2 separate regions of the Homo sapiens genome follow, and region 1 is linked to region 2. Evidence: promoter capture Hi-C in human tissues and cell types (Jung and others, 2019). All regions are on one chromosome and are shown on one strand. The core of a region is centred on a gene start or on the middle of the fragment in contact, and the rest is flanking DNA. Distances in the headings are between cores, read along the strand shown. Region 1 overlaps MAPK1 (mitogen-activated protein kinase 1). Region 2 holds the start of PPIL2 (peptidylprolyl isomerase like 2).

What was found. Contacts are between HindIII fragments. The study calls those that stand out against the background at their distance.
Region 1: a contact is called between a fragment that was not itself captured here and the fragment with the promoter of PPIL2 in region 2, in 2 of the 25 tissues and cell types used here (dorsolateral prefrontal cortex and lymphoblastoid cells).

Annotation. Positions count from the first base shown.
Region 1 is chr22:21,773,091-21,779,715 of GRCh38, reverse strand. All of the region lies in intron 6 of MAPK1 (mitogen-activated protein kinase 1), which reads left to right. Among named protein-coding and RNA genes, the nearest start is that of YPEL1, 41 kb to the right of the region's middle. The HindIII fragment of the contact is 9,569 bases long and covers 1-6,625 here.
Region 2 is chr22:21,660,810-21,667,721 of GRCh38, reverse strand. PPIL2 (peptidylprolyl isomerase like 2) reads right to left here and starts at 1,710. Exons shown (of 20, transcript NM_014337.4): 1 at 1,591-1,710. The coding sequence starts at 1,622. It also overlaps the pseudogene LOC107985532. RefSeq lists enhancers at 1,274-1,323, 1,394-1,633, 868-1,778. The HindIII fragment of the contact is 22,549 bases long and covers 1-6,912 here.

The DNA.
Region 1 (6,625 bases), core at 1,793-4,292, 110 kb before region 2:
TGTAGTTCCCACCTCATAGGATAATTAAAAGAGTTAAGGAATTATTGTTAACTTTAGATTCATTATTAATATTATTAGTATCTAAAGAGCAGAGACAAATCTAAGACCACAGTGTATAAATAAATGAGCAAAGGACAAGAACACACAGTCTACAGGAAATACTGAGATGAGGAAAACTATAGGAGGAGCAGTTTGGGTGACAGCAGTTGAGAATTTGGTTTAGTCTGTGTTTAATTTAAGGCACCTGTTAGGCATTAGAAACAACCTAAGTGCCAAATGTTAATCAAATGGCTGAGTAAATTATGAGACATCTACTTAAAGGAATATTTTAAGGCCGCTAAAAGTGATTTTTTTTACAAAGTTTTGATAGTGGGGGAAAATGCTAATGAACAGTATTTACTAAGGGAAAATAAAACAGCATTTGTCATACATAATATGATTTCAGCCTTCTACAAGAAAATGCATAGAAAAGAATTCAACAACATATGTGAAAAGATAAGCAGTGGTTACCATTGAATGATGGTGCTTGGGGAGCAAGGGAATGTGGGTGAGTCATTCACACAGACCAGAAGGCCGGGTTTGGTGGGTCAACCGTCTGAGGTCTTTTCAGTTCCACAGTTCCACATAACAAGAACTTACTGGCCCAAGAAAGAGCTTTATTGGCTCTGATAACTGAAAAGTTCAGTCACATGTGGATTGATGGGCACAGACACTGTGTCTAGAATCTGGACTTCTTTATCATCCAGTTTTGCCTTGCTCTGGGCTGTCTGTCAGTCAGCCTCTCTTTTCATGATGAGAGTAAGACACTTGACCTGATCACTGCAGCCAGGACTTAGGCTGACTCTCATCACCTCTTTGTGCTCAGCTTGGATGCCATGCCTATCCCTGAGCAGTCACTGTGGCCAAGGGGACTCAGGTGAATATGGCCCAGTGAGTGTCACCATTCCCACAGCACAGCCCAGGAGCGTGGGCAAGCCTGAGCGCTCCCCTATAGCAAACACTGTTGGATGGATTAGAGGGGCAGTGGATGCTGGTGGGCACAACCAGCAGGTGATCCCGAGAGTGAGGGAAGATAAGGAATTCTATTTTCTCCCCCCCACCCCCCCCCTTTTTTTTTTCCTGAAGAGACAGGGTTCTCCCTCTGTTGCCCAGGCTGGAAGGCTGGAGTGCAGTGGCACAATCACAGCTCACTGCAGCCTCGAACTCCTGGGCTCGGGCAAGCACCGTGCCTGGCTAATTTAAATAAATTTTGTAGAGATGGGGTCTCGCTATGTTTCCCAGTCCTGTCTTGAACTCCTGGACTCAAGGGATCCTCCTGCCACTACCACACCCGGACCCCCCCCGCCCCCCGTTTTTTTTTTTTTTGTTTTTTGTTTTTTTTTTTGAGATGGAATCTCACTCTGTCGCCCAGGCTGGAGTGCAGTGGCGAGATCTCGGCTCACTGCAAGCTCTACCTCCCAGGTTCACGCCATTCTCCTGCCTCAGCTTCTGGAGTAGCTGGGACTACAGGCACCCACCGCTATGCCCAGCTAATTTTTTGTATTTTTTAGTAGAGACGGGGTTTCACCGTGTTAGCCAGGATGGTCTTGATCTCCTGACCTCGTGATCTGCCTGCCTCAGCCTCCCAAAGTGCTGGGATTACAGGCGTGAGCCACCACTCCTGGCCCCCACTTTTTTTTTTTAAATTAAAAAACGCAATTTCTATAAGAAGTCTGTCTCCATTTCTCAGATAACCTAATGTTTGAAAACCTTGCAGACTTTATTACACATATAGATACATACATTGATTGTAAATGGAATCATAGGCTATATATTTTATTACCTACACAAACTTGGATTTATTGATCTACAGCTTGGTCACCCTCAGCTCAATATAGCTTTGGGAGGTATTTAACCTGTGGTCTTTTAAATCTTGCAAGAGATTGAAAAGATAGAAGAATGAGATTGTGGCCGGGTGCGGTCACTCATGCCTGTAATCCCAGCACTTTGGGAGGCCGAGGCAGGTGGATCACTTGAGCCCAGGAGTTCGACACCAGCCTGAGCATCATGGCAAAACCCCGTCTCTGCCAAAAATACAAAAATAAGCCTGATGTGGTGACACACACCTGTAATCCCAGCTACTCGGGAGGCTGAAGTAGGAGGATCGCTTGAACCCAGGAGGTAGAGATTGCAGTGATCTGAGATCAGGCCACTGGATTCCATCCTGGGCAACAAAGTGAGACCCTGTCTCAAAAAAAAAAAAAAGAAGAAGAAGAAGAAGAAGAGTGAGATTGTGAGAAGTTGGAGAACACAAACCTTCAGCCAGTGATGGAATAGGGACAAAGAAAAGAAACTAGTGCCATGTGATATCACAGAAGCAGAAGATGGCATTTTGAGAAAGTAGGCATGCACAACAGTGTCCATGCAGCAGAGAGGTCTAGCAAGATATAGATTGGAAAATGTGGGTTGATTTTCCAATGAGGGGCTTGTTGGTGACCATGCAAGAGGAGTTGAAACAGTGAATGGAAGTGAGAAATTTGAAATGGAAAGTGGAGACAGAAACGACTGGTCCACATGAGGGGAAGGGGTTGTGGACCAGGCCACAAGTTGGGGAGAATTGACTTTGAGTAGAGAGAGGATATCTTTCTTGGCAGTGTCAGTAAGGGTGTGTGTGAATCTGGCTAGGAGGGAATTCCGCGAAGATCACTCTTGGGTGCCTCAGTTTTCTCTGTAGCACCCTCAAGAAGATATGCTGAGAGTAATGAGGGTCAGTTAGCAAGAAGGTCATGATTCAAGCCGTGCAAGTTGGGTGAAATCTGAGAGTAGAGGAGGGGACTGACCAAAGCTTTCCAGAAGCTGTTGAGGGCCTTGATGAGGCTGAAAATCTTGAGTTTTTGTAGAACGGTAGTTACTGATAGTGTGCTCCTTAAACACCTGAGATCCCCAGGATCCTTTCAGGGTGTCCACAAGGTTAAAGCTGTTTTAATAATCTTCTTAAAGAGTTACTCACACTGCTCTCTATGTTGCCATCAGCACTTGTGGCACAGGAGCAATGATGAGCAGAGTCCCCAGCACCACAGGCAGGTCAAGGCAGTGGAACTAGAGAGGTTACTGAGCTCTGCACTGCCACACCCCCACTGCTCAAAACCAGTGCCAGTAAAAAGTACTCACCATATTAAATCCATCCTTAATACATGTCTTCACGATGTCTGTGTGACAAACACGTATAGCATTTCTGCTGCATACTGAATGCAGTGGTTTTCTCAGGGAAAAGCACTTATGTAACTATTTGAGCTATGAGCAGAATTAACTGGTTTTTAAATCGTCCCTCAGTTTTGATGAGTATAAAGAGTTCTGAGATCAGAAAGTTTGAGAAGCACTGTCGCACTGGCACACTTTGCACAGTTCAGTCTTTTCTCTGGCCCCGCACAGAAACATGAGTTGAGGATGGAAGTGACAGGTTGCAGCATTGATTCAGGGTCAGAGTTTCACGAGGCAGGCAAGATAGACATGAAGAGGCACTGTGGAGAGCCAGTCAATGGCTTTCCCCAGGTCCAGGACAGGGCAAGAAGGAAAAAAGGATGATGGATTAGAAGAAAGGGTTGGAATCAGGTTGTTACATACTATTTGAAGTTAAAGAGAAGGGCCAGGCTGGCCAGGCGCGGTGGGTCACACCTGTAATCCCAGCACTTTGGGAGGCCAAGGCGGGTGGATCACGAGGCCAGGAGTTTGAGAACACGCTGGCCAACATGGTGAAACCCCCGTCTCTACTAAAAATACAAAAAATTAGCCTGGCGTGGTGGCAGGCACCTGTAATCCCAGCTACTCGGGAGGCTGAGGCAGGAGAATCGCTTGAACCCAGGAGGTGGAGGTTGCAGTGAGCCGAGACAGCGCCACTGCACTCCAGCCTGGGCAACAGAGTGAGACTCCCGTTTCAAAAAAAAAAAGACAAGGGCCAGGCACAGTGGCTCACACCTGTAATCTCAGCACTTTGGGAGGCTTAGGCAGGAGGATCACTTGAGCCCAGGAGTTCAAGACCAGCCTGGGCAACATAGTGACTCCCCATCTCTACAGAAAAATTAATTTAAAAAAATTAGCTGGGTGTGGTAACATGTGCCTGTAGTACCAGCTACTCGAGAGGCTGAGGCAGGAGGATTGCTTGAGCCCAGGAGTTCAAGGCTGCAGTAAGCTATGATCATGCCACTGCACTCCAGCCTGGGCCATAGAACAAAATCCAAACTCTGTTTTAAAAAACACAGAAAGAGAAAATGTAGTATTCTGGAAGGCACTAGGGAAAGTCAGGATTTGTGGTCAGGAGTAATACTAGCCTCAAAGGGACTTCCAGTCTTTTAGGGGAAATAAAACCTGTATCCAAGTAAGCATCCACACAGGCAGCCATGATTCACACCATCTGAGTGTTACCAATGAATGCCCATGTGGCGTGGGAGGAGGGAGTCCGGACATTCTTGACTGTGGGATCCGCACCTGCCAGCTGCTTCCCGGTTCTCTCCTTTTCTCCTTCTGTAGCTATGAATAATGTAGAAATAGCACTTGCAGTAACAGAAGGCTGGAGATCTAGCTACTTTTCAAGTAGCAAATCTTTTTTTAAAAAGCTGTCTTCTTTGAAATTTATGCCTGGAGGTTTAAGGGCCTAGAATTTATTTAACTTTAAGGAACTAATGGATCTGTTTTAGAAATGCTTAAGCTGCAAAACATCCAGTTGGCTTGGAGTGCCTGTCTACTTAATACGAACAAGTTTGAGTAGGACCCTTCTGCCCCCAGTGGTTTAGAAGTAATACTGTTAGAATCTTATTGTGGTCCAGGCCTTCTGGACTTTTCTTAGCACAGACAGTATCTAATTGGGTGAAAAGCCAAATGACTTAATCTAGTTTCAAGAAAGTCCTTGAGAAAATGTCTGTGAGTTCTATGTGGGGAGGGCTGGTTGGGAGCAGGAAGCAAAGTGGGATTTATTACCTATATTATAGACCACAGGAATCTTTTTTTTTTTTTTTTTTTTTTTTTGAGACGGAGTCTCGCTCTGTCGCCCAGGCTGGAGTGCAGTGGCGCAATCTCGGCTCACTGCAAGCTCCGCCTCTCGGGTTCACGCCATTCTCCTGCCTCAGCCTCCGAAGTAGCTGGGACTACAGGCGCCCACCACCATGCCCGGCTAATTTTTTTTGCATTTTTAGTAGAGACGGGGTTTCACCGTTTTAGCCAGGATGGTCTCGATCTCCTGACCTTGTGATCCGCCCGCCTTGGCCTCCCAAAGTGCTGGGATTACAGGCGTGAGCCCCCGTGCCCAGCCAACCACAGGAATCTTAAGATTCGGCAAGGGTTGTGTGTCTTGCACACATATCTACAAGTGTTCCTTGGAAGTAGGATTTGAACCAGAGATTCCTGGGTTCTTGACCATCATGCGTCTTTGTCCTGACCCTTGAGAGGGCCACTTCCTAAACCTAGCCAGTTTGTGTGCCCACAGACCCAGGGTCACAGCTGCAGGCATGACCACCTCTTCTACTGCGCAGACACTCCTTCAGTCACAGCAAAACCTGTCTGGATTCTCTACTCTGAAAAGTTATCTAGGCTATAAAACAAAATATCATTATTCCGTAATTTCCTAAAGTGCACTTGTATGTATTGAAAAGATTATAGATAGAAACATACATAACTTTTAAATGTTTTCTATGCGGAATTTCTCATTATGTCCAGCATGTGGTTTACCATGTTTATCATCTCCTGTTGTCTTAAGGTCAGGGGTTGCAACAAGGGAGGTCAAAATTGGCCGGGGCTGAGCACAAATACACACCCACAGCCCTTCAGTGACCTCAGGCAGCAAGATGCCTCCCACCTCCCCCCAGCACCCAAGCAATCCCTTCGGAAGGTCTACTGATTGTTCTTAAGGGTTAGGAAACATTTTCTTAGTAAATAGTGAAAACTTACTTTTTGAAAGTAGTGGCTAGAAGTGATTCCTTAAACTGATCATGAGTATTAAATTGTACCAAATTTTACGTGATTGTTTATCATTTTAGGAATGGTGAGAAGGGACATACAATTAAATTTTAAAATGTTTTAAGAAGAAATAATGATATTTTATCATTCTACTTTGAGGGCTTAATAGTATGTGCTAATTTGCAGATGGATGAAGTTGACCTTTACCTACAAATAACCTAATAAGAAATGATCATTGCTGGCCGGGCGCGATGGCTCACGCCTGTAATCCCAGCACTTTGGGAGGCTGAGGCAGGCGGATCACGAGGTCAGGAAATCGAGACCATCCTGGCTAACACGGTGAAACCCCATCTCTACTAAAAATACAAAAAATTAGCCGGGTGTGGTGGCGGGCGCCTGTAGTCCCAGCTACTCAGGAGGCTGAGGCAGGAGAATGGCATGAACCCGGGAGGCGGAGCTTGCAGTGAGCCGAGATTGCACCACTGCACTCCAGCCTGGGCGACAGAGCGAGACTCCGTCTCAAAAAAAAAAAAAAAAAAAAAAAAAAGAAATGATCATTGTCAGAAAAGACGCTTCATTAAGTAGTGCCAGTGTTTTTGTTTGCGGTCTGCAATTGTCAGATGGTCGGTCCCTATGTTCACAGTCTCGGGAGGCTTGGAGATATAGTCAGCACCCTTTGTGCTGGCTGCTCTCTCTG
Region 2 (6,912 bases), core at 461-2,960:
ACTAACTACACAAGACTGGGGAAAGCAGCTTATAGATGACTGGGAAATTATATCACCCACAGAGAATGTTTATGGAAAAGAAACGTATGAGATCTGAGAGAAGGGAGGAGGGTCCAGAAAGGAGACTGGGAAAAGAAAGACCGCTGAAGTCGATGGAAAACAAAGAGCATGTGAAATCCCAGATACCAAAGAAGGGCTTCAGAAGGAGGGAGTGGTCAACAGTGGGACATACTGTTGAGAAGCCCAACAAAATGAGGACTGAGGCTGCCCAGACGCGGTGGCTCACGCCTGTAATCCCAGGACTTTGGGAGGCCGAGGCAGGTGGATCACCTGAGGTCAGGAGTTCGAGACCAGCCTGACCAACATGGAGAAACCCCTTCTCTACTAAAAATACAAAATTAGCTGGGCATGGTGGCGTATGCCTGTAATCCCAGCTACTCGGGAGGCTGAGGCAGGAAAATCTCTTGAAGCCGGGAAGCGGAGGTTGCGGTGAGCCAAGATCTCACCATTGCACTCTAGCTTGGGCAACAAGAGCGAAACTGCGTCTCAAAAAAAAAAAAAAAAAAAAATGAGGACTGAGGATTGAATACTATATTTAGCAACAAGAAGTCGCTGGGAACCTGAAAAGAGAGGCCGCTGAAGTCGAGAGAAAACAAAGAGCAGGTGAAATCCCAGATACCAAAGGAGGGCTTCAGAAAGAGGGAGTGGTCAACGGTGTGACATACTGTTGAGAAGCCCAACAGTTCTGGGGTCGAAATTCTGACTTGAGTGGTTTCAAGAGACTCAGAAAACAGCATGAAGCCACTAGTCTCTCACTTGTTCTTAAGAGAAACAACACGGCGGCAGCGGGAGGGGAACGTGGGACGTGGGGCACGGGGCACGGGTGGATTTTTAAATTTTATTTATTATTTTTGAGACAGCGTCTCGCTCTGTCGCCCAGGCTGGAGTGCAGTGACACGATCTCGGCTCACCGCAACCTCCGCCTCCCGGGTTCAAGCGATTCCCCTGCCTCAGCCTCCCAAATAGCTAGGATTACAGGCGCCCGTCACCACGCCCCGCTAATTTTTGTATTTTTAGTAGAGACGGGGTTTCACCGTATTAGCCAGGCTGGTCTTGAACTCCTGACCTCAGGTGATCCGCCCGCCTCGGCCTCCCAAAGTGCTGTGATTACAGGTGAGCCACTGCGCCCGACCTGGTTTGCTTTAAATTAGAAGGCTCTGCAGCACGTTTGCAGGCTGATAGGCATGAACCAGAACACAGCGAGACGTGAAGTACGGAAGAGGTAGAGACTACTCATTCAAGGGCGAAACTCGCGAACAGACGGGGGACGGTCCGGGCAGAACCAGAGTAAGGAAAACCGGGCTGCGCTCGAGCCCGCAGCTGACGTCATCGGAGCCGCGGCCCCGGGAGAGCGCGGCGGCCCGAGGGTCATTACCCTGACTGGAGACAGGGCGGCAGCTTCCGGGAGGAAGTGACCTTTGGGCTGTGCTCTGGGGAGTAGCTGAGAGGGAAGGCGAGCGGCGCGCAGTGCGGGACAGGCGGTTCACTGAGGCAGAGTGGAGCGCCGCTCCCGACTGCGGCTCAACTTACATTTTGTCCTTTTGGTGCTGTCGCTTCCCCATGGCGGAGCGGCGGCGGCGACTAGCGAGCACGAAAAAACAACGGCTGACAACTCAGACCATGGAGCCGCAGCCGAGTTCCGTGACCACTTCCGGGTTCCGCGGCGCGCCCCGGAAACGGGCGCCTGGCGTGCTGGGAATTGTGGTTCGCTAGCGCCAGGTGCTCATGCTCGGAAGGATCGCCTGCCCAGTATGGGGTCCTAGCTAGGTGTGCCATCTCCCGCAGGCGTCTTTTCGGGGCCGAGCTCCCTCAGCCTCGAAGCCCCATCTTCTTGAGGGGTCTGTCTGGACCGCCTTGTCTACCCCCCTAGCCACGGCTCAGGGCCATTCCCATACTGGGTTCTCAGGTCTTATTTATTTATTTTCGAGACAGGGTCTCGCTCTGTCGCCCAGGTTGGAGTGCAGTGGCACAATCACAGCTCACTACTGCCTCGACCTCCCAGGCTCAAGCGATTCTCCCACCTCAGCCTCCCGAGTAGCTACGGGCACGCACCACCACACCCGGCTAATTTGTTAATTTTTTGTAGAGACAGGCTCTTACAATGTTGCCCAGGCTGGTCTGGAGCTCTTGAGCTCAAGCAGTCCTCCCGCCTTGGCCTCCCAAAGTGCTGGGATTACAGGCCTGAGGCTTCGCGCCCGGCCAGCGCTCAGGTCTTTTTCAACGTCCTCCTAGAGCTTCAAGTCTCATGAGCCTCCACCCCATCCCTTCCCGCCTCCGTGGCAGATGCCTTCAAAGCCATGTACCACTCTCGTTCTACTCGCTCACTTCTCATTCTCTCTGCATATTCGGTCCCCACCGCCTCCAGGCCCCTCGGAGGCCCAGCAGCAGGTGGCCATCAAGCCTAGAGGTCCAAAGCCCTACCTGATCCCTTCCGTCTCTTCTGCCAGACCCTTCCCTTGGGTCAGATCAGTACCTTGGGCCCCTAGCTACACTCAGGCCCAGGGTAATCTTGCCTAGGCTCCTAATTTTAAATGCCATTTGTATCCCATGACTCCCAGTACTAAGTCACCAGCACTCCAGGTTCCTGATCTCCACTTGGGTAACCACTGATCTGAAATGTAACATGTCTGGATGGGCGTGGTGGCTCACGCCTGTAATCCCAGCACTTTGTGTGTGTGTGTGTGTGTGTGTGTGTGTGTGTGTTTAGTAGAGACGGGGTTTCACCATGTTAGCCAGGATGGTCTCGATCTCCTGACCTCCTGATTCGCCTGCCTTGGCCTTCCAAAGTTCCGGGATTACAGGCGTGAGCCACCACGCCCGGCCAATCCCAGCACTTTGAGAGGCTGAGGCAGGCGGATCACTTGAGGTCAGGAGTTCAAGACTAACCTGGCCAACATGGCAAAACCCCATCTCTACTAAAAATACAAAAAATTAGCCTGGTGTGGTGGCACACACCTGTAATTCCAGCTACTTGGGAGGCCGAGACAGTAGCTTGAACTGGGGAGGCAGAGGTTGCCGTGAGCCAAGATTAGGCCACTGCATCCCAGCCTGGGTGACAGAGTGACTCTGCCTAAAAAAATTAAATTAACATGTCTGGTCAAAGTAGAATTTTCTTTTTTTTTTTCTTTTTTTTTTTGACATGGAGTTTTGCTCTTGTTGCCCAGGCTGGAGTGCAATGGTGTGATCTTGGCTCACTGCAACCTCCGCCTCCCAGGTTCAAGCGATTCTCCTGCCTCAGTCTCCCAGGTAGCTGGGATTATTACAGGCATGCGCCACCACGCCTGGCTAATTTTGTATTTTTAGTAGAGAAGGGGTTTCTCCATGTTGGTCAGGCTGGTCTCGAACTCCCGACCTCAGGTGATCCTCCCGCCTCAGCCCTCCCAAAGTCCTGGGATTACATGCATGAGTCACCGCACCCGGCCATAAAGCAGAATTTTCAATCCTCCCTCTTCTCCCAGTCCCCACTCTGCTGAGCAGTACCACCATCCACCCAGTCACCGAAAGCCAGCTATCTTTGCCTTATTTCATGGCTGGCTTCTTATTCTCTAGGTTTTAACATAAGTGTCACCTCCCCAGAGAGACCTTCCCTAACCACCCACTTCCATGCATCTCCCATAAAGTCTGTCACAATTCCTCACAATTTGTAATCCTGTGTAATTCAGTCTGTGTCCCGGTTTACTGAGCACCCTCCCTGACACAACCACTGCCTCCATGACACACATACAGTGGATGGGATGTAGCTCCTTAAGGGCTGGAATCTTAGGCCCAGCATGGTGGCAGCACCTGTGATTCCAGCTACTTGGGAGGCTGTAGTGGAAGGATCACTTGAGGCCCAGGAGTTTGAGGCTGCAGTAAACTATGATCAAGCCACTGCACTCTAGCCTGGGCAACAGAGTGAGATCCTGTCTCTTTAAAAAAGGGCCGGGGTGTGGGGAGGGGACAGTCGGTGCGGTGGCTCACGCCTGTAATTCCAGCACTTTGGGAGGCTAAGGCGGTTGGATCACCTGAGGTCAGGAGTTCGAGACCAGCCTGGCTAACATGGTGAAGCCCTGTCTCTACTAAAAATACAAAAATTAGCTGGGCGTGGTGGCATGTGCCTGTGATCCCAGCTCCTCAGGAGGCCTGAGGCATGGTGATCGCTTGAACCTGGGAGGCAGAGGTTGCAGTAAGCTGAGATCGCGCCACTGCACTACAGCCTGGGCAACAGAGCACAACTCTGTCTCTAAATAAGCAAGCAAACAAATAAATACAAACCAATTAAAAATAACCCATTTGTGGTGATGCACCATGATGACTCAGTCAGAAAGCAAAATGCACCAATAACCTAAAAATTGACCCCATTGGAGAAATATTTCAAAAAGCAAGAACAGTTGAGTAAATGATGTTCCACCCGTTTGATGGAATATTTTGTATCTATTGTTATTGGTGAACTTAAAGATTTATTATTATTATTATTATTATTATTATTATTACTTTTTATTTTTTGAGATGGAGTCTCGTACTGTTGCCCAGGCTGGAGTACAGTGGCGTGATCTCGGCTCACTGCAAGCTCCACCTCCCGGGTTCAAGCAATTCTCCTGCCTCAGCCTCCCGAGTAGCTGGGACTACAGGTGCCTGCCTCCACCCTCTGGGCTCAAGAGATTCTCCCACTCACGCCTCCCAAGTAGCTGGGACTACAGGTGCGCACCAACATGCCTGGCTAATTTGAATACCTGAGCTCAAGTGATCCCCCACCTCACTCCTCCCAAATTGCTGGGATTACAGTAGTGCACCACCACGCTCGGCCAGAATTCTGAATTGTCTTTTTATAAAACAGTGTGAGTTCCTTACACAAAAAGTCCTCTGAATTCTTTTTTTTTTTTTTAAAGACAGAGTCTCACTTTGTCGCCAGGCTGGAGTTCAGTGGCACGATCTTGGCTCACTGCAACCTCTGCCTCCTGGGTTCAAGCGATTCTTCTGCCTCAGCCTCCCAAGTAGCTGGGACTGCAGGCATGAGCCACCACGCCCTGCTGATTTTTGTATTTTTAGTAGAGACAGGGTTTCACCATGTTGGCCAGGATGGTCTCCATCTCTTGACCTCGTGATCCGCCCGCCTCAGCCTCCTAAAGTGCTGGGATTATAGGTATGAGCCATTGTGCCCAGCCAAGGCCTTTGAATTCTTATTCATTGCTGGATGCAAAATGGTACAGTCTTTTTGGAAGACAGTTTGGCTATCGTACCCTATGATTCAGCAAGCATGCTCCTTGGTATTTACCCAAATGAGTTGAAAAGTTATGTATACTCTAAAACCTCCACACAGATGTTTATACTGCTTTATTCATAATTGCAAAACTTGGAGGCAACCAGGATATCCTTCATTGGGCGAATGATAAAATGTGGCATATCCAGGCAATGGAATATTATTCAATGCTGAAAAAGATGAGCGGCCAGGTGTGGTGGCCTAACTGCCTGCACCTCTTGACTCCCCACTTAGCCTGTGTGACTCATTCAGGTCTGGCCTCCACCTCCAGGCAGTCCTCCATCCCCCAGGCTGGGTTCAGACCTCCTTAGTTCCCAGCGTGCCCGACCCCATCTCCTGTACCCCTAACCAAGCTCAAGGTGGGCACAAGAGATGGTCCCAATGTATCTGCTGAGTGAATGAAAGCCACGTCATTCTTATGGCTCTTCTATAAGGTACTTTTCTTCAAATGAGGCCAACAAACTTATCCTGAGATTTCCTTTCTATCCTCCAGGTGAAGAATTTGGACATTTCAAGATCTGAAGTGAAATTAAACTGGAATGGCCTGTCACGAAACCCAAGGAGGTCGAAGGGGTTTACTCTGGGCTTGAGGGAAATGAAAAAGGAGCATCTTGGGGAGTGTCCCATGTGCCAGCCTAGGTCACCATTTCTTCTCAGTCTGTTAGTGAATCCTCACAACCATCCTGAGTGCTTATTCTCATTTTACAGTGGAGGGGTCTGGGCTCAGAGGTTGGCTCTGTGTAGGCAGTGCCTGTGCCCGTGCTGTAGAACTGCACATGAGGTGTGGAGGGGCCTGGGGCTGACGTCCCCTCTCTGCCCTGTCTTGCAGCCACATGGTTGATCTGACTGGTTGATCTGACTCCCTTGGTTCTCAACCCTGGAGGCTTCCATTTCTCATATGTGGCTGGAAACAGCCTGCCCAAGCTCCATTGCCCTGGCTCCCCCTGGTAAGCATGCCTCCGCACCTCCCTGGGGCCAGACACCATCCTGGCTCTAACCCAGTGCACTGCAGGCAGAGGGTAGCATGGGGAGCCATGCCCACAGGGAGAGGCAGGAGTGGGGCTGGAGATGTGGGAGGGGCCCCCTGGTTTTCCACCTGTCCTTTGGGAGCCCCAGGATCCTGTCTGGTCTACACTATGCCTACGGTCTTTGGTCCCTTCCCTCCACTGCCCTGCAAGTCGGTCAGTGGGAGCCTCCCCCACTCCAGGCAGTCCTGGGTGCCCCCTGCTCAGAACAATCCCAGGGGCTCTCCTGGGCCTGTAGCCGTGGATCTCAGCCCTCTGCTTTTAAGCAGCAGACCCCTCTTTGCAGACAGGGTCTTGATGCACAAAGCAGATAAACGGGGTTTGCTCTGGTTAAGGCGTTGGGTGGGGGTTGAAGGCACCAAGGGGCTCCACCTACTTGGCTTTAGGCAAGCAAGGCAGCCCCAGGTGCCAGGGGGTGATGAGGTCACCACGGAGACCATGGTGGTGGTAGCGGCAGAGGTGGCAGCAGGGTTGGTGGCAGGCATGGGGAGGTCAACCGGTCCCACAAGAGGTTGGGTTCTGGTTTCTTCTGTCTTGGCTTCTTTCTCGTCTTCTTGGTGTCTGCAACAAAAGGTGCCAGTGAGTGCC